Linked DNA regions of Homo sapiens: all the other regions are linked to region 5. Evidence: promoter capture Hi-C in 16 types of primary human blood cells and fetal thymus (Javierre and others, 2016). All regions are on one chromosome and are shown on one strand. The core of a region is centred on a gene start or on the middle of the fragment in contact, and the rest is flanking DNA. Distances in the headings are between cores, read along the strand shown. Region 1 overlaps PLOD2 (procollagen-lysine,2-oxoglutarate 5-dioxygenase 2). Region 2 has its middle 10 kb from the start of PLOD2. Region 3 overlaps PLOD2 (procollagen-lysine,2-oxoglutarate 5-dioxygenase 2). Region 4 overlaps LOC105374145 (a long non-coding RNA gene). Region 5 holds the start of PLSCR1 (phospholipid scramblase 1). Region 6 overlaps PLOD2 (procollagen-lysine,2-oxoglutarate 5-dioxygenase 2). Region 7 overlaps PLSCR4 (phospholipid scramblase 4).

Region 1 (2,700 bases), core at 66-2,565, 400 kb before region 5:
AAAGGTGAATTTGGATAGGTATTAAATAACATTAAGGAATCACTGTTGAATGCAATAACAATATTAAGATCATGTTAAAAATAATCTTTACCCGTTTCAAATATCTAATAGATATCTAATTATTTATACAGGCAGGCAGGCAGGCAGGCACGCACACACACACACACACACACACACACACACTTTTCACTACAGATGAAACAAACAAAAAAAGACAGAGACAAAATAATGAGCAAAGCACTATACCTAAATACGAAGAATAAATCAGAGGAATGAGAAAAAAATGACTTCAAAGTTTTGAAGTTCAAAGTTAGAGGTCTCTAGTCTCCTTGTATAGTGAGCGCCCTCTGGCTATATCAAGAAAGCAAACACTCCTCTGTACTGTTTCTGCATTTACCCTAGTATTTTAAAAACATCATCCTCAAATTCTTTGTAATACACTTAATCATAATAAAAGAGGAAATAACACAACTCTCCAATAATTCAAAGCACAACAGACTTGTACCTCAATTTATCAGAAATACCAAGTGATATAAAACACATCCATGGTTGCATAATATTACAACATCTATATTTCTGAATCTCTGCTGATTACTGAAGTAACCAGCTGACTTCCTGAAACCAAATAAAAAACAAATTCAGCACTATACACTGTCTCAGTGTATATGTTGCAAGAGGGTCCATGCACACTGGACCATAGGCTGAAAGTCATAGCATGCAAAGAATGGCTGGGATATTCCATTTGTTACGGTTAATATGAAATGCTACAACCACAATAAGCATAATCCACAGAAATAAATCCCAAGGATGAAACTACCCAAACCAAATTTCTGTTCAGGGAAGAATTCAGTGTCACATTTTACATAAGCATAATTTCCCTTGCCAGCACTCAGCAGTGGCTTCTAGTTCAGATTTTTCTGAATTAATTGTGAACTCATTCAAGTCACATATTTTGTAATTTTGTACCACACTTAAAAGCAACTTCCCTTCCTCTATTTCACTGACCCTCTCACTCCCATCACCTCTTCAAACTGAATAGGACTCTTTTTCGAAAGAAGTTTCTACAAACCAAATATGCTTTTAAACTAATTTAAGTGTGGGATATTCTGAGAATTATTAAGAAAAATTCATGTCTTGCATCAATAAAGAATTTAAATCTGGTTATAGAAAATCAGATATAATTATCAATTATAGTTATTTTTTAAGTTTGTGTCTATGGTTCAAAAGTAGACTTCTTAGTTTATCTTTTATCTCAACATGAAAAAAAAATCTCACTTATCCACTCTGCCATAACCCATGGAGCTGACAGTACTGGTGTAACACAGCCATTCAGTGAGAAGGAGCCCGGTTTTTTAGGATATTTACTTGCTGTTTAAAATGTAATACTTCATTTTTTAAAAAAATATGTTTATGCTTGAGGAACATAAAATATCAAGTGATATTAATAAGATAAAAGTTTATCATTTTAATAAACCAAATTTTTCTTCAACCTAATATACTGTACAAAAGACTCAGCTACTGGTATTTATTTGCTTATTCAATAAATAACAGTTAATTTCCAAAACCAACACCCAGGCTAAATACTTCTGTTAATATTTGCTAATCTTACACGTAAAAAACAACTGTATAAGTAACTATATATGTTTTTAAAATTAAGTCACACTCTTTCCCTTCCAGTTGTTCTGCTTGAACTGCTTCCTTCAATTTACATAAAATCCACCTGGAAACAGTAGGAAAAATAGCCAGAAAAAAAAGCAGTGCACACCACCATCTTCTCCAAGGATTAAGTCTCAGAGTGTACCACTCACTAGATATGCTCCATTCTAAAGATGCAAACACATGTAGAACAAATGCTGCTGTGACAATGACCTAGCAAGATATCAAAGAAGTCCAGATTAAAATGTATTCATACTTTCTATTCCTTTCTTAAGGCTCAACAATAACCTCCATGGCTAGTAAACACAAATGTGTACATACACATATACACATATACGTATGCACATAAATACTTTGCTCCCACAAACTGATTTCGTTTTTATTTGCCATGTTTTCAGTTCACTAAATGCAATCATATTTTAAAGATAATTAATGAATCCAAAAGTTGAATCTAGGTATTCTGATGACTATTTATGTAACAAGTTAGAAAAGGGTCCCCAATTTTTAAGTAGCACATACCATAAAACTTCGTTTTAACTTCTACGTAGCCATTAAAAAAAAAATGAGATCATGTTTTTTGCGAGAACATGGATGGAGCTGGAGGCTATTATCCTTAGCAAACTAACACAGGAACAGAAATCCAAATACCGAATATTCTCACTTATATGTGGAAGCTAAATGATGAGAACTCATAAACACAAAGAAAGGAACAACAGATACTGGGCTCAACTTAAGGGTGACAGTGAGAGGAGACAGAGGAGCAAAGAAGATAACTACTGAGTACTGGGCTTAATACCTGGGTGATGAAATAGTCTGTACAACAAACTCCCATTACATGAGTTCACCTGTGTAACAAACCGTCACATGTACCCCTGAACCCTAAATAAAAGTTAAAAAAAAAAGTTACCAGCATAATTGTTATTAATTTATTTGACTTAAAGGTCAGGACTGAAACAGATGAATATAAGTTTATTTTTTTAACAGCATACAATATTTAAATGTACTGAAGAGGATACGGTTCCTCTCTGAAAACAGAAAATAGCT
Region 2 (2,700 bases), core at 152-2,651, 370 kb before region 5:
CAGAAGTCCTGGGCATTATGTTGACAGGAAGTTACCCAGAAAAAGAAAAAGAAGTGCTGATATTTCTGTCTTTACCCAGAAACTGCCTAGAAGACATCCCCTTGTGTCACTGGCCAGAATTAGGTCATGTGGCCATTTTTAAACCAATCGTGCCAGAGGAAAATGATTGCCATTCATGTTTAGCTTCATATCTATCCCTAGAGCTGTAGATGATGTCAGCTCTCTCTGAATCACACAGGAGACAGTTTGATTTGGAAACTTAAACAAAATTTAGGCCCCATGAGCAAGAATTATGAATGGTTGGGTAACCAACATAGTCCATTACCTATTAGTTGACTGCCTACCAAGGAAGATGGTAGATTGGCAGAAGTCTCTTTTCTCTCTCTGTCTTTCTGTTTCTCTATCTCTCTCTCTCTGTCTCTCTCCCCCCCCCAACACACACACACATACATACACACATTCACACTCACAAACATACCATCGCCAATCCTCTGCATGTGTGTCACAATTTTAGTTAGATTAATAGTGTTTGCATGATTGTGGTTGTATAAATAATATTTATTGTTAAGCTAAGTAATCTACCATAATTCAGTTTCCTTTCTTGTATGTTTTCTGCTTTTCCTGGAATTAATAATTGCCTTTTAAATTTATTTACTGTGTACTAAACTATCATTAAATTCTTTATTCAGTTGCTTAGTTTTCTATGTGCCACCACTACATTTTAATTCTTTGGGATAAGCTGTAAAACTTCAACCAATGGGGTCAGTCACATCCAGCAATTTCTTTGTCTTTTGTCTTGGAGATGACTCTCTTAGAGGAAACCTTCATCCTTCTCCTACCTGGATTGATGGAGCTGAAATTCCCATGGGATTTCTCATCATTGTAATCATTGGAATCCCTTAACTTCTCTCCTTTATTAGATCCTCATTCCTGTGATTCATTCCATTGTTTTGGTGGAACACATCCTCCAGTAACTTTCTGAGAAAAAGTTCATGAAATGTAAATGTTTTGAAACTTTTCATGCCTAAAAATCTACTCATTCCACTCTTATAAGTTAAATGCTAGTTTCAGCGAATATAGAACTTTAGATTGTTTTTCACTTTCCTTCAGTATTTCAGATTGTTTTATTGTTACAATGACTTCTGATCAAGCTTGTGTTTACCATCTGTATCTCTTCTCTCTCTCTCTGTCTCCCTCCCTCCCTCTATAATCTTTTGTATTCACAGTATTCTAAAATTCACAGTGACATAATGATGCATTTTGGGGTAAATCTTCTGTCATTCATTGTTTTGTGTATTCAGTGAACCATTTTTTGAAAAATTTTCCACTCCATTTTCTCTATTCTCTCTCCTATATTGATCCTCTAATTTCCTTACCTTCTCTGATTTTTCATTTATTTGCCTTTTTATTCTATTTAGAATATTATTTAAATGTATCTGCCTCTTTCAAATTTTTATTTCATAATTTGAATTTTAGAAGCCGTTTCTTATTTTCTGAATGTTCATCTTTAAATGTCAGTCCATTGTTTTATGAATACACTGTCTTTTAATTCTTCAAGTATAATAGAGTGGTTTTTTTAATCGTTTTCTTCAATTTCATGCCTGCGCTCTGTTTTCTTCAGTTCCTTTGTTTTGGCCACTATATTTATGTGAAAGCTTGCCTCATATGGTCCACTTATCCTTGACTTTCTAGTCAGAAAAGGTGTTTAAAAGATGACAGCTCTATGTGCAAAGGTGGGGTTTGTCAACTGGCGTACATTTTGTAAGGTGATGAGAGAAGAGAACATCTAAACATTTTGTTTGGGGAAGGCTCCCAATGTCAGTATCTTTTGACGCTACCTTTTTTTTTTTTTTTGAGTCAGAGTCTCTCTCTGTCACTCAGGCTGGAGTGCAGTGGCGTGATCTCAGCTCACTGCAGCCTCTGCTTCCTGGGTTCAAGCAATCCTCCTGTCTCAGCCTCCTTAGTAGCTGGGACTACAAGCATGCACCACCACACCCAGCTAATTTTTGTATTTTTAGTAGAAGGGGGTTACACCATGTTGGCCAGGCTGGTCTTGAACTCCTGACCTCAGGTGATCTGCCTACCTTGGCCTCCCAAAGTGCTGGGATTACAGGCATGAGCCACTGCGCCCAGCCTTGATGCAACTTCTCTATAGAAGAAAACTTCGATCTCCTGAATGTAGGGGAAGTATGGCCTTTAAGTTTGGCTGTTATATTCTAGTTCTTGAATAGGGTGGGCTAAAATAATCATGTGGGTCTTACTACTCAGAATGTAGAGATTCATTTAGCTGCCATAATTTTAGTGTGTTACTTTATGTTATATTCATCTTAGGTGAGTTCCTTAGTCAATTCCTTCTATCCTACATACTGCAGACAATAATTCCCCATTTCACTGAAGAGTTGAAGTCAAAGGAGGAATAGTTTTCTGTCTATGCCAGGAGAGACAGAGGATCTGAGGCACAGAGACTTCCTATAAAGACTTTATATTTGGCTTGTGGCCCTATCACATAACTTCACATTCCAACATACATACTAGCTCCAAATTATGAGTCTTTTTCTAACAAGAACTGCTTTGTTTCTTACTGAAATTTTCATCTGCAGGCATACAAATTTCAGCTTCTTGAAACTTGTATATAAAGTCTGAATGATCAACATATTAAACATATATTCTTTAAAAACTGTATCATCAAAATGAACTTAA
Region 3 (2,700 bases), core at 197-2,696, 410 kb before region 5:
CATTTCAGAATGAGTGGACTCAGGGGCAAGTAATATCATATGTCTTGCATGTAGGTGTGAATGAAATAATTTAACAAAATCCCTATGTAGTTAGCATAATCATCTCAAATTCACAGGTGGTTAAACTCCAGTAAAGTAATCGACTTAGCCAAAGTCACCTAACAAATTACTAGTAGGGCCAGAAGTAGAACTTCAGAGTTATTCCTCAATGTCATGTGGCCTCCCCTGGTGACAACAGGTTAAGGGCTGAAGCAATCATTGAGTTTTATTATGTTCAGAAAAGAGATAGCAACTTAAGACTTCTATCCTTAGAAAGATCTGCTTGTAAGGTTGGTCCTTGGCAGGCATCTGAAAAGTTGGATTCCATATGGTTTCCAGATGGTCTTCCAATGGGAAGGGTTCCCATCATTCCTAGATAAGATGGCTCACTGTGGCTAAATTATACAAACAATGCGGTTTATGCTGAACACCTGCCTTCCTTCTGGGTGCTTGAAATTTTGGTACAGAGGCTGCCTATGTGACCATTCTCCAGAAAAGTTATGGGCACTGAATCTCTAATGAGCTTCCATGGTAGGTAAACATTTCACACATGTTGTCACAACCAGTTAGTTGCTTGGAGAATTAAGCAGATCTTGTGTGACTTCACTGGAAAAGAACTGTTAGAAGCTTATTCCTGGTTTCCCTGGACCTCACCCATGTGTTTTTTCTCATTGCTGATTTTGCTTTGTATCCTTTCACAATAATAAGTCATAGACATGAGTACAACCATATGCTGAATCCTGTAGGTCCTCCTGGTGAATCACTGAACCCGCAGGTGGTCTTGGGGATGTCCGACATATTATCCTAGCTACAGTCAGAAAGTCTTATCTGAAAGAGGTACTATGGGGATAGTGCATTATGCTGTGTTCTGTACTCAGAGGCGAAGCTAGAGAGATATAAAAATGACTCCAAATGGATTCCAGAAAATAAGTATTTGGTACATAAAGTAATCATACCCTGCTCTTCCACTGACTGAAAGTCATTTCCTTTAATGTGAATTATGACCTCAGGGTCAGTCTAGCAAAGCCCACTTCTTTCATGAAGGAGGAAACCATAATCTAAAGAGAAAACAAGACTTATCCAGGATCCTGCAGTTAAGTGGTAACCAATCTAAGACAACTCGGGATTCACAGTTACTAAAAAACTTGGTTTTCCTAGGTTTCATTGCACACAATTTTGTTGCTTTGTTAAGTACTGAGTCACCAAAAACTATGACGAACTGAAGGCACGAAGTCTAATTTTATTTTGTGGAATTGTTGAAGAGAATTAATTTTATTTTGCAGAACTGTTGAAAAAAATTCAAGACAAAAATTCCTCAAGAGTAATTCACGTCACAATTTCAACAAGAAAAAAAAAACCTAAAAAGGATGTGTCAAGAGACATCCAATGATTTCCTACCATTTTTGTAGAAAAAGAGGGGCAATGGTATGCTTAAAGAAAAAAGTCACTTCCAACCTCTAATGCTACATAGAGGGCATCTTCACACACACTAGCTTTCACATGGATGCCTGGGCTTCCACAGCCCACTCTGGACAATGAACAGACAAACCACAAATTAAGAGAAGTGCTGAAAAGTGGAGGGTAGTATGCAGAATGACTCACCATCCCAGTATGCCCAGGGCTGAGGAGATTCCAGAAATACAGGGCTTTCAGTTTTAAAACTGGAAAAGTCCTAGGCAAACTGGAATGAGTTGGTCACCATAGCAGTATGTGCAGTGGGATGGAGAGGGCAAGTATCGCCAGTTATTTACAGAAAGGCTGTAAGACAAATGGTCCTGGATAGGAGTCATGAAGTTAAAAATAAACTCTTCTAGAACCATAAGGTCCAATACTAACTAGATACCAAATGTAGAAGGATAGATCAAGACTTCCAGAGATAATAGATATGTGAAAGACCAAGGTGCACCGAGACCATCCCCATCCTTTATAGATACTTCAAACCAAACCATGATATATCTTTATCATTCTTTTCAAATAAAAATTTTATACATGCCAACATTAAGAACTTTTTTTTTTAGGTTTCCTGATCATCCCTTTGGATACTCATTTTTTCCAGTGATATACCCACATGTGTGCTTTGGTCTGTTAGGTAACCCAATAGTGAATGTTTGACAAATTTCAAGACAGAACTCAAAGGAATATTATGATCAAGAATTTCTAGTAGCTAGTAACTTTCAAAATGCTATGAAAGCTTCAAGACATTTTTTAAAACATACAGATTATACTGCAAAAAAAATCAAAATTTGTATATTTATGGTCAATAAAACTTGAATAAATATTAGACAAAGATTTGAATTTTAAAATAAAAGCCTGGCTGGATCCGGTAGCTCATGCCTGTAATCCCAGCACTTTGGGAGGCCAAGGTGGGCGGATCATGAGGTCAGGAGATCGAGACCATCCTGGCTATGGTGAAACCCGGTCTCTACTAAAAATACAAAAAAATTAGCCGGGTGTGGTGGCTGGCACCTGTAGTCCCAGCTACTTGGGAAGCTGAGGCAGGAGAATGGCGTGAACCCAGGAGGCGGAGCTTGCAGTGAGCGGAGATCACGCCACTGCATTCCGGCCTGGGCGACAGAGCAAGATTCCGTCTCAAAAAAATAAAAATAAAAGGCTCCATTTTCCTAGTATGAGGTGTAATTTTTAATATAAAATATTGTGGGC
Region 4 (2,700 bases), core at 96-2,595, 360 kb before region 5:
GTAATTTCATTTCTCCTTTATAGTTAGAAAACCTCTGAAATTAATCTGATTTATTGAGGTAGACACCATGAGTATGTGCTTAAAAAAGATTTTGAACATTAGAATAATTTGAAACTGGGTTTTATTTTTTTCATGCTTAAAATCTCAATGTTATGAAAGATGTTGCTTTAAAATGTTTTAAATCTCTGCTAAATTTTTGCTGTGGCGGCACGGAAACTGGAATAAAAATGGCGATCTGTGTTTTTAGTTCTGGTTTGATTACTAGTTAATTCTCAATGTAATTTTAGACACATAATCTGGGCCTCTCCCACTTCCTTCATTTGTATATTAGAATGTAGAGCAGATGGTCCTTAACACTTCTTCTGATTTTAAAATCCACTGATACTATTCATTAAAATTTATAGATTGGTACTGATAAATTCTTGGATTAAAAAATGAGCATAGTTTAACAAAAAAATCCATGAGCTGGTGCTGCCCCCTATTGTAGCTTGTTTTATTCAGCTTTCTGACATGGAGCGGGGAAAGGCAGCAAAGCGAGATAAATATTTTGTCACTCTACTTGCTTCTCCCTGGCACTCTCTACTTGTTTATTTCTGTAAAATCAAGAGGTTTTAAAATGGTTTGATTTCTAACTATGTTATCTTTTATCTGTTATAATGAAAAAAGTTAAAACTCATGTAAACTATGTTTAGTGATTGTTAACTAAGACAATTTGAGCAACATGTTTTCAAAACTGTTTAAGGAAAAGATTGCTCCTATAATTTCCTAAAATAAATTTGCCTAAGCCTGGGTCATAGAAGAGCTGACACAATTTTAAATAAATGTCTTTTACTTAACAGTAGTACTAGAAATATTAAACATTTTAAGAGAATCTGGAACTCAATAATATGATGATAGATAACTCATCTCAAAGAGAAAATATTTAGTTGTAAGTTAGGTATAACAAATAGTAATAAGTTGCAAGTTTCAATATTATATGATTATATTTATGTTAAAGAATTTTCCTCTGAATATTTCACATAAAAATCATGTGCAGTTTAAAAAAATAGGTCACTCACATTGCTAGCAATGTTGCAAATTAGATAATCTTAAAACCCCTCTTTCCATAGAATATATAAAGTGTGGCTGAAATATAACCAAAGGGCTTTTAGATGCAAAGTGTAGATTTTGGGAGAGTACAAGATTTTAGCAGAAGTTAAAAATAAAGAAAAATTGGAAACGTCTGACTATTAAGCTTAGTCTGGCATTTTCTTTGGCTTCTCAAATGGAAGGAGTCACCAACGTTTATTAGGAAGGGGCTTTGATTTTACCCACCACCATGAGGCTGGAAGTGAGGTCTTGGGCTTAGGCAAGGGTTGATATTAGAAGAGAGACCCCCAGTAAAGTGGAAAGTCTCAAAGGGACACACTCCAGTGTAAAAAGTGAGATAGAAAAATTGGCAAATAGAAATTAAGAGAAAGCTTGATTGTTTTGACCTCTGCTACAGGTAGGGAAAATTTGTTCCCTGAGAATTCATAAACCAGGATATGTCCACATCATTTAGGGGTTCATATTTGAAATACATACATGACTTGGGAAACACCAAACTGAAGAAATAATATAAAAAAATGGTCATCAGCTGGCAACACCACTGAGGCACCAATAGGAGCAAAGGTAAGCCTCTCTGGAGACAGCTACCCTCAGACAAGACTTCTGAGTCTCTTGCGTTTCCCGGTCATAGTCCTAAATTTTAAAACACATGAAGTAGCATGCCACCTTTCTCCTCTATTTCTGTTTCCCTGTATTTCTGGGTTAACAGACAAAGAAACCAAATATTACACAGAGATGAAAGAAAAACAGGGCATAAAAATTTGGAGTGTAGCCTCTGGATGTTTATACCGGTACTATGATGTTTTGGTTACTACAGCTTTGTAATATAATTTGAAGTCAGGTTATGTAATGCCTCCAGCTTTATTCTTTTTGCTTCTCAGTGCTTTGGGCAGTCACATAACGGCTTTGTGGATATACAGCTAGCTGAGTGGCCTTGTGCAAGATACCTAAATCTTCATTTTCTATTTTGTAAAATGGGAATCATTATAGTAATCTAACTCATAGGGTTATGAGAATTAAATGGGTTAATATATGGAAAGTCTTTAGAACTAGAACAGCGTCTGGTTTGTAGGAAGCATTAAATAGAGCTGGCTGGTTTTATAGTCTTCATCATTTTCACTATTGTTATTATAGGTAGTTGCATCATCCCACCTATCTCATGATTAGGTTGCTTTTTCTCCATGTGCCCCAGATGAATGTCCAACATCTGGCCTAGAATTAAATCTTTGGGTAAAGATAGCAATTATATATCCCCAAATTACATGATTTCACAACTGGCTTCTTTGCTGAGGAGCAGTACAAGTAAGAACGGCAAGAAATGTAATAGGCAACTATTAAGCTAGCTAATGGCAGTACATGTTTTCAGAATTTGCAATTTAAGTTTTTTGTTTAGATACTATGTGCAAAGGCATTACCATCTCCCCAGCTCTAGCACCTTCCCCACCCTCATTACACACACTAGTGAACACTCACCACGAACCTGCTCTGGGCAGCTGGGACACAGGATTACAACGATTGGCCTCATCAGATTTCTGGTTGGAACCTTGAGACTGCGCAGCTCTAGAAATTCTTGCATTAACTAAGTTCCACCGCTAGGTGGAAGTAGCTCCT
Region 5 (2,700 bases), core at 59-2,558:
CAGTTTGATCTATAAACCAGCTATTTTACATGCCACTTTTCTATCCAATTGCATAAATCCACTCTTTCCCTTTATATGTCTTTTTCATTTCCCCGCATTTTCTCATTGTTCAAAGCCCTACTATTGTTGTAAACAGGGTGGCATTAAGACAAAGGTTTGCTCTTAGAAAAAGTTCAAGAAGGGAGCCCCCAAACTGTCTGACACGTTTAAGTGTCACTTGTAGTAACCATGTATCTCAATGTGATAAGCCAGAAAAAACAACGACTGCCTGTTCCTGGAACTGGGAAGTGGCCATGCCAAGACTTCCAGGAATAACAGTGCATGAATGAAACCACCTGGGAACCAGAGAATCAGCTTGGAGAAGCAGGAACTTTGTCAAATATTTAAAATAATAAGAGCTAACTTTCACTGAGTACTTTCTGTAGCGCCAGGCACTGCTCTAAGAATTTTACATTAATACTCTGTAGCTCATTTAATAGTTACACAATTTCAGAGATGAGGCAATGGAAAGAACATATATAAGAAGAAAGTGGCTGACAGTCCACAGACGTGAAGCAGTAGAGGCCGAATTTAAAGTCGGGGAGCCTGACTGGAGCTAATGGTCTTAGGAACCGTGCTAGATACCGCCACTATCTTTCCTAAGCTGGTATTGTAGAGGGCCTAGCATAGATGTGGGCTCCGGCGGACTTCATTGAATACTTACTGATAAATGACAGCTTGCAGGCTGTATTAACCATTCCTTCTAATAGCCCCACTACGCTGGCACATGCTCCTGAGCCCAGACTCTACCCAGGATTCAGGGCCGCTCTCTACCTGTAAAGCAGTGTAGCTAAGGGGAAGCTGAGCCCCGCAAGGCGTTTTCAGGCAGGGCACCCCTTGTCATTCGAATGGTTCTGGGGTGAGCCCGGGTGCCGCTGGGCCGCCTGGGGCCCCTTGCCGTGTACCTGCTCCACTTCCAGGGTCCCTTTCAGAGGCCTCTTGCATTTCTGGCCCCAACCTTCACCCCACATCCTCCACCCCCAGAGCAGCAAACACAACCTGCGGGCCCTCGCGCCGGTTCCCCACAAGTTGCCCTCCACACCTGACCCCGGCCCTGGCCCCAGCGCAGGCTCCGCGCAGTTCCCGCGCCCAAGTCCCCAGGAGGCGGCAGAGAAAGCCGCCCGCGCACCTCTGGCTGCCGCTGTTTCCGCTCCCGAGCGAGACAAGGTCCAGAGAGCCGGGGCCAGGCGATGGCTTCCTCTTCTGCGCCTCTAGACTGCCGGGCACAGCTGCTGCGCAACCTTCTCAGAAGTCAGCCGGAAAAGGGTCTGGGAGTAACCTTTGCGCCAACACCCGCGGCTCCTGGTTTCGTTTCCTGAATCTTACGTACACAACACGGTTTCCTTTTCCCGGTTCCCGCGCTGGCGCTCGGGGACCCACGAGACTACTGGAGGGTGAAGGAGCTGGAGGAGGGACTGCGCCCACCCCCTGGTGTGAGGCCCCTCCCCTACCCCCGACTTGCTTTCTTGCTCATTGGAGAGACTCCAGAGACGTTTGTCCGGTGGTTAAGGAGAGGAACTGGGACTCCGACACTAACTGGAACTGGAAAGTCATCAGCTGGGGAGTGGCCTCCCCCGGGAACTTTCTTTACTCTGGCTTTGACCTCCATCCCTCGGAAGCCCGTGGCTTTTCAAGGCGAGGGAGTAGAGGCAGCTTAAGACTACAAATGAGGAGGGGCCAAAATTGTTTTTCTTTATGGTGCCTTTTCTTTCTTGCTGTCTTGCTCTTTCTTTCCTTCTATTAAATTATGTGATATTACTTTTTAATTTTTAAGCAGTTATTTGAATGTTTTCGAGCTCACTTTATTTTTTTATAAATATTGTTCCTTTTTAAACTAAAATAGTTTTTATTCTGTGTATTTAAGTTATTTGTATGACATATCCATCAACTCCTATAATTACACATTTCCCCCCTTGGGGCAAGAGCAGCTATAATCTACTTATTTAGCATAAATCCTGAATACCACTATCATTAACTATAGCCCTCATGTTGTACATTAGGTCTTCCCATTTGTTCATCCTACGTGTTTGTAACTTTGTATACTTTTACCTAAATTTCCCCATTTCTCCTGACCCCACTCCAACCTGGATGACCCTGGATAAACCAGTGGTCCCCAACCTTTTTGGCACCAGGGACCAGTTTCACGGAAGAGGATTTTTCCATGGACCAGGGCCGGGTGGCAGACGGTTTCAGGATGATTCAAGCACATTACGTGTATTGCGCACTTTACTTCTATTATTATTACATTGTAATATATAATAAAATAATTATACAACTCACCATAATGTGGAATCAGTGGGAGCCCTGACCTTGTTTTCCTGCAATTAGAAGGTCCCATCTGGGAACGGTGGGAGACAGTGACACCAGAAGTGTGTTGCTTATGTCCAGTCTACTCCGTAATCTTGTTTTGGTTGCTGTCACTGCAGAAAATCCTGCTTCACAAAGATAGCATGTTGGAAATGGAAGCAGACTCTTCAGTGCTTTTGTGGCAATCTCAGGATATCCCACCTTGAGTTTAATCCAGAACATGGGATTTGAAGCTGTCTCAAACATACTTTTAAGGCCACCATCATTTGTGATCTCAAGCAATTGATCCTCTTCTAGTACGGACAAAATCGATTCACCTGACTTACTCACAAATGGGTCATGGATACATTCATT
Region 6 (2,700 bases), core at 94-2,593, 470 kb before region 5:
AACGCTGTCGTTCAGGGGAGTATTTTACTACAAAATTCAGTAGTGCAAATCCCTGAAAAAGCAAAGTAAGCCAGTGGATTTGCTTATTAATAAAAACATTAAAAAGAACACCTGTGTAAAAATGGGTAAGAAATAGGCTGGAGGGGTGAGAGGATAACTACCTTCGTATAATAGCCTGCAAAGACCTTCAGTGTAACTGGTGCAATGAACTCCCGGATAAAATGAAGCCATACATTCTCCAGATCAACTTGCTTCATGTGGATATCATCAGTTGGGACATTTTCATAACCACCAGATATACGGCTATCCTAGAAACAACATTAATGACATAATAAGCTGTACTCCACGTGCAATTCCCATTTATATTATAGTATTTTTTTTCAACCACAGATCATAATAGACAATAAAAATAACAGTTGTTCCAATGTGGTATATCATCTGCTTTAACTGTAAAATTATCAAAATAACTTAGGTAACAGCTTTGTCAATGATACAATGACGAAACAAAGTAATGTAAGGTCAGTAGACTCCTTTCCTACTTCTTAAATGTATATGTGAAGTTTAGCTATAAAGTAAATAAAATTGACTTCCTAAGCCCTCACATCCTTTCTTAAAAATGAGTCTTTTTTTACAGTGACCCTTTAGGCAGTCTCAGCTGCTTGATGAGCATACACTTAGCATATCTGCTGTCTGTATTACCAAACACTAAAAACAAGCTTTCCCCGCCCTTCCTCACTTCTATTTGTAACACTCAAAAGTTTTTGAATGATTGCTTTTCATTATTTCATCACCCACTAACTTAAGTTCTTCCTTATACTTTAAGCTTCCCTCTCCCTTATCAGCTCATTACCTGGGGGACATAACCGTGCAGAGGCAGTAATATTCCAGAGTATTCTGCTAAAATGGCATGTCTGTTCTCAGAGGGAAAGAAACACATCTAACCACTGGCAGTAGTATTTCCTGCCAAGTCTTTGACACTGAATGCAAATGCAAAACTGAATTACACCTAAGGCACTCAGATCCCTCCTTCCTATCTTTACACACAAAAACAGTTTTCAGAGCCAGATAACATTTGCCTTAGAATTTTCACCACAGCTCACTGTGAAAACGCAAGGAATAAAAAGTGGCCTTGGAAAAGAGTGACATCACTCTGTAAAGACATGTGTTACCTAACAAACTCTGGCCTGAGGACATCGACCCTTAGGGAACATCCAGTGTAATTACATGCATAAATGAGAAACCCGCCCAAACTAATGAAATTACTTAAGTGTTAAAAAAATTGGTTGGTGGGAGAAGTAGACTGAAATCAGAGCCTTGGCTAGCCAATTTATCTAAGTCTAGAACTCAGAGACATATGAGAAAAAGTATATAACCCCTCCGAATTCTCTGAGTATCTACTTAACCCCCACATACATTTTAGTTCTTAGTGTGAAATTACAACTTACATGATGTTTTCCCCCAGACCATTTGCCGTAATGTTCCATTTCTTCTACCAATTCATCACAGGCTTTTTCAGAAAATATGGGGAACCAAAAGACATCTGGACAGGGCTATAAAATATGCATCATCGTTAGAAGACATAATAACTTCTGTGTCTTAATAGTCTAAAATAGTTATTTTAATATGTGTAAAATAAAAAATCCTGTATGACTAGGAAACATAGTTTTCTGTCATGGTTTATTGACAGTATTTTTTTTCTCATGGTACATAAATAATGGTGCACCTCAGAATTGATGACATCTTACATTCTCAAAAATTAGGTATTAACAATAGTTTTGAACACTAAGCTAAAAGAGAATTCATGTTTCAAAGATGTCTCTGAGAAAAGACTCTTCCAGAAAGACAGCCCAGTTTCTTCCAAAGATAAGCTTTCACTGCAAGAGTTCTACATCAGAGATCTGTCAACAGTTTCTATTTTTAGTGGTTTCAGAAAGCTATGACACATAGGAGCATGCTTTTTAAAAAGGCATGCTTTTAAAATGTTAATTTCTATGTTCTACATTTTACAACTGTATGTTCCTTAATGCTATTTAATCAGTAATTGAATCAAATAAATTTTACCTAAAAGGTAGTTTCTCCACTTTCACATCTTCTGTGAAAGTAGTATTAATAATATTTCTTCTGGAAAATAACAGCAAAATTTTCTATACTTTGTAATCATTAATACAAACCTGTTCAACTATATTTTCAGTGAAAATCTTTGAATAATCACGGTTTATATACTTTTCCTTCCAGTCCTATAAAAAGAAGTACATATTAAAACAAATATCTTTATAAATACTTCACTGAAAAGTATAAAGCATATGCATTTTAGAAATTATTCAACTTATAAATGATTATGTATAGTGGACAAAATAGTAATTTTCAGAAATCACAGTATATAGCCTAATCTTTGCCTGGTTCTGAATATGCTTATGTCATTCTATGAAATACAAAATTTTTATTTATGAAATATTGTACCTCAGGATTTTAAAACTTAAGTAATCTTACAGTGAATAGATTTACACATTTTACAGATGCTCCTTGACTCACGATGGGGTTATGTCCCAATAAACCCGTGGGAGGTTAAAAACACACAGTACCCCGATAAATCCAACATAAAGCTGAAAATTCCTAAGTAAAGCCACCGTAAGTTGGGGACCATCAGTATTTTAATATATACACAGAGTAGGTAAATAAAGGTGTGCTTAAAGGTAAAAG
Region 7 (2,700 bases), core at 65-2,564, 320 kb before region 5:
TTTTTTTATTACCTAATTTTCCCCACAAACTTCAAAGATTATTCAGTAGATATGTGTCCCACTGTAAGTCCCTTTTTAATCTTTTTCTGACAATGATAGGAATGTCTATATACATAAATAACAAATATATACATACATATATATATGCAAACACACACACGTATTTATATTTGCCAAATGTTAAACAAAAAAAAATCGAAATAAAGTCCCCCTTTAGGGAAAATAATCACAAAATTCACATTTGAAAATAAAGCATATTCAAATTTATTCACAAAAACTTACCTGACATTTTGAAGAATTCCAATTAATCCTGAAAAATAAAAAATGTTAATGCCTTTAAAATACATACATAATAAATAGTATTGCTACTCAGTAACACAGGTAAGGATTTCTGTAATTTTTTTAACCTCCAGTTACCTTACATTTGTCCCTTCATTAATTAAAAAAATACTTATTGAGCACCTATTATGTACGAGGCACTAATACAGATGTTGAGAGTACAGCAATGAAGCAGACAGACACTCTGCCACCTACTGTGCTGCAGTTTATATTGTAGTAGAATGAGATTTAAAAAAAGTCAAGAAATGTTAAAGTTTAACGTTAGATAGTACAGTTATGAGGAAAACAATGTAACAAGCTTAAGAGAAACACGGATGGTAAGTTCTAGGAGAGTCAGGGAAAGCCTGTCTCAGGAAGTGACCTTTGAGCTGTTTCAACTATGAAAAATAAACATCACACTACAATTGTGGGAAGAGAGTTCCAGGAAGATAGGAAATTAGTGCAAAGGGTCAGAGATGGCAGTGAGCATGGGATACTGAAGGGAGGAAAAGAGAAAGTGGTTTAGGAGTGACTGGGCCACAGTGAGTGAAGCGAACTGAGGTAAGACATGCAGATAAAGGTCTGATCTCATCTGAAGGCCATGGCAAGGGGTTTGGCATTTTTGGTATTTGCAACTGGGAAGTCTGGAGGATTCAGTCGGTGGAGTGATCAGATCTGACCGACATCATACAATGAGAGCAAGAGTAGAAGCAGGGAGCAGTGAGGGATGGCAGCAGCAATCCAGGTGAGAGCTGACACCAGCTTAGATGGGGGAGGTGACACTGCAGGTTAGGAGTGTTCAGAGGCATGATACGGTTTGGAAGCAGGGCCTCCAGGAGTCGCTGATGGACTAAGGTAAAGAGAGGAGTGGAAGAGGGTTCTGAGTCATAGCCCAAGGTAACTGAGTTGACGGTGATCCTATTAACAAAACTAGAGAGGAGGATAGTGGGGGAATAGTGGGGATGGAGGAGGGTAAGAATTGAAAGTTTAGACTGGGGCATGTTTAAGAAGAGACTAAAAGAAGTTAAACATTTAAATTAAAAATATGTATGGGAACATTATGAGAATAACTCAAAGAAGAAGACTAGAAGTTGAGACGAGATTTGAAACAAGGAATGAGGGTGAAGGTAAATTTTTCTGAATTCAGTCAGGCAAAAAAAAGGCTATTATTTGAGAAGGGAATTTCAATATATCTGAATTTCTGAGTTCTGAGTAATGACAAATAACAAAAAGAGTATCAACAAAGGCTATAATTTACTGAATGCTTATCAAGTGTTAGGCAAAGGGCCCAATTCTTTTCACATATCTCTGATTATAACAACTCTCTAATGTGTAAATGGCCAACCCTGCTAAAGGCAAGTGCTTCTAAATCCTAAGCCTATGTACTTTTCAATATGTGATCATGTTCATAAGAATACAGTCATTTGCGTTGTCCAAGTGGAGTAAAAAAGTATCAAGTTAGAGTAGGTCAAAAAAGCATTCAAACAACGTATTAGTGAGTCATCAATATGGACACTGAGCTGACTCAATGAAAACTGCCATGGTACGAGCCAGTATGCAGATTCCCAGCTGAAATGATTGTCTTGCCAAGACGGGTGAAAGTTTAACCAGTCTTGGACCATCTCCACTCACCTCTGGAGCTGGAGTTTGTTGTACGGTGCCCTATGTGTCTCCAAGCTTAAAAAATACATATAAATATATTTTAAAACATATATATTTACTTTTATATAATATATATTATGTAAAAATGTTTTAAATATATATTTAATATATATTATATATTTTTACATTTATATTTTAAATATATTAATATTTAAATATAAAATAATACAAATATATAATAATTATAAATAATAAATATTTATTTATTTATTTATTTATTCTGGGGCATACCAAAAAGTCAGACCCAATTCTGGGCCAGTAAAAGGAGTTCAAGGGGTTAGTCATATTCCTTAATGATGGTAATCCCTGTTGTTAAGGAAAATGACTACAGCTTTCTAGAAATTTAGACACTCCTAGTTATGTACCTGGAAGTGACTCTTGCACATGCACACAGGATATAGACAAGAATGTTCTTGATAACACTATTCATATTTAAAAGAATGAAAACTTGCCTAATGTCCATCAATGGTAGACTGAATAAATAAATTCTGGTACATTCACATGATACAATAATATCCTGTAGTGAAAACAAATTATAGCTGTGCACGTGGACAGAGATGTATCTCAAAATTATAGCACAACAGAAAAAGCAAATCACTGGAGAATACATGTAGTATTGTGTCCAGAATTGGTGGGTTCTTGGTCTCACTGACTTCAAGAACGAAGCCGCGGACCCTCGCGGTGAGTGTTACAGCTCTTAAGGTGGCGCATCTGGAGTTT

Evidence for each region. Contacts are between HindIII fragments. The CHiCAGO score rates a contact against its expected background, and 5 or more counts as called.
Region 1: a fragment that was not itself captured here is called in contact with the fragment with the promoter of PLSCR1 in region 5 in 1 of 17 cell types (M0 macrophages); the score reaches 5.7 in M0 macrophages.
Region 2: a contact is called between a fragment that was not itself captured here and the fragment with the promoter of PLSCR1 in region 5, in 2 of 17 cell types (monocytes and M0 macrophages). The highest score is 6.2, in monocytes.
Region 3: a fragment that was not itself captured here is called in contact with the fragment with the promoter of PLSCR1 in region 5 in 1 of 17 cell types (M2 macrophages); the score reaches 5.0 in M2 macrophages.
Region 4: a contact is called between a fragment that was not itself captured here and the fragment with the promoter of PLSCR1 in region 5, in 13 of 17 cell types (monocytes, total B cells, naive B cells and 10 more). The highest score is 9.4, in monocytes.
Region 6: a contact is called between a fragment that was not itself captured here and the fragment with the promoter of PLSCR1 in region 5, in 3 of 17 cell types (M1 macrophages, megakaryocytes and M0 macrophages). The highest score is 6.1, in M1 macrophages.
Region 7: a fragment that was not itself captured here is called in contact with the fragment with the promoter of PLSCR1 in region 5 in 13 of 17 cell types (naive CD8 T cells, monocytes, naive B cells and 10 more); the score reaches 12.3 in naive CD8 T cells.

The regions. Positions count from the first base shown.
Region 1 is chr3:146,148,187-146,150,886 of GRCh38, forward strand. All of the region lies in intron 1 of PLOD2 (procollagen-lysine,2-oxoglutarate 5-dioxygenase 2), which reads right to left. Among named protein-coding and RNA genes, the nearest start is that of PLOD2, 12 kb to the right of the region's middle. The HindIII fragment of the contact is 4,995 bases long and covers 1-2,700 here.
Region 2 is chr3:146,169,913-146,172,612 of GRCh38, forward strand. No RefSeq gene overlaps it. Among named protein-coding and RNA genes, the nearest start is that of PLOD2, 10 kb to the left of the region's middle. The HindIII fragment of the contact is 504 bases long and covers 1,150-1,653 here.
Region 3 is chr3:146,130,546-146,133,245 of GRCh38, forward strand. All of the region lies in intron 1 of PLOD2 (procollagen-lysine,2-oxoglutarate 5-dioxygenase 2), which reads right to left. Among named protein-coding and RNA genes, the nearest start is that of PLOD2, 29 kb to the right of the region's middle. The HindIII fragment of the contact is 1,564 bases long and covers 665-2,228 here.
Region 4 is chr3:146,187,070-146,189,769 of GRCh38, forward strand. The region is part of intron 1 of LOC105374145 (a long non-coding RNA gene); the gene reads right to left. Among named protein-coding and RNA genes, the nearest start is that of PLOD2, 27 kb to the left of the region's middle. The HindIII fragment of the contact is 226 bases long and covers 1,233-1,458 here.
Region 5 is chr3:146,543,299-146,545,998 of GRCh38, forward strand. PLSCR1 (phospholipid scramblase 1) reads right to left here and starts at 1,309. Exons shown (of 9, transcript NM_021105.3): 1 at 1,169-1,309. RefSeq lists an enhancer at 1,159-1,638. The HindIII fragment of the contact is 8,607 bases long and covers 1-2,700 here.
Region 6 is chr3:146,071,116-146,073,815 of GRCh38, forward strand. It overlaps PLOD2 (procollagen-lysine,2-oxoglutarate 5-dioxygenase 2), which reads right to left. Exons shown (of 20, transcript NM_182943.3): 16 at 2,172-2,237; 17 at 1,446-1,550; 18 at 162-308; 19 at 1-52. Among named protein-coding and RNA genes, the nearest start is that of LNCSRLR, 3.3 kb to the left of the region's middle. The HindIII fragment of the contact is 1,045 bases long and covers 822-1,866 here.
Region 7 is chr3:146,221,783-146,224,482 of GRCh38, forward strand. PLSCR4 (phospholipid scramblase 4) reads right to left here. Exons shown (of 9, transcript NM_020353.3): 2 at 283-310. The coding sequence starts at 289. Among named protein-coding and RNA genes, the nearest start is that of PLSCR4, 28 kb to the right of the region's middle. The HindIII fragment of the contact is 1,358 bases long and covers 636-1,993 here.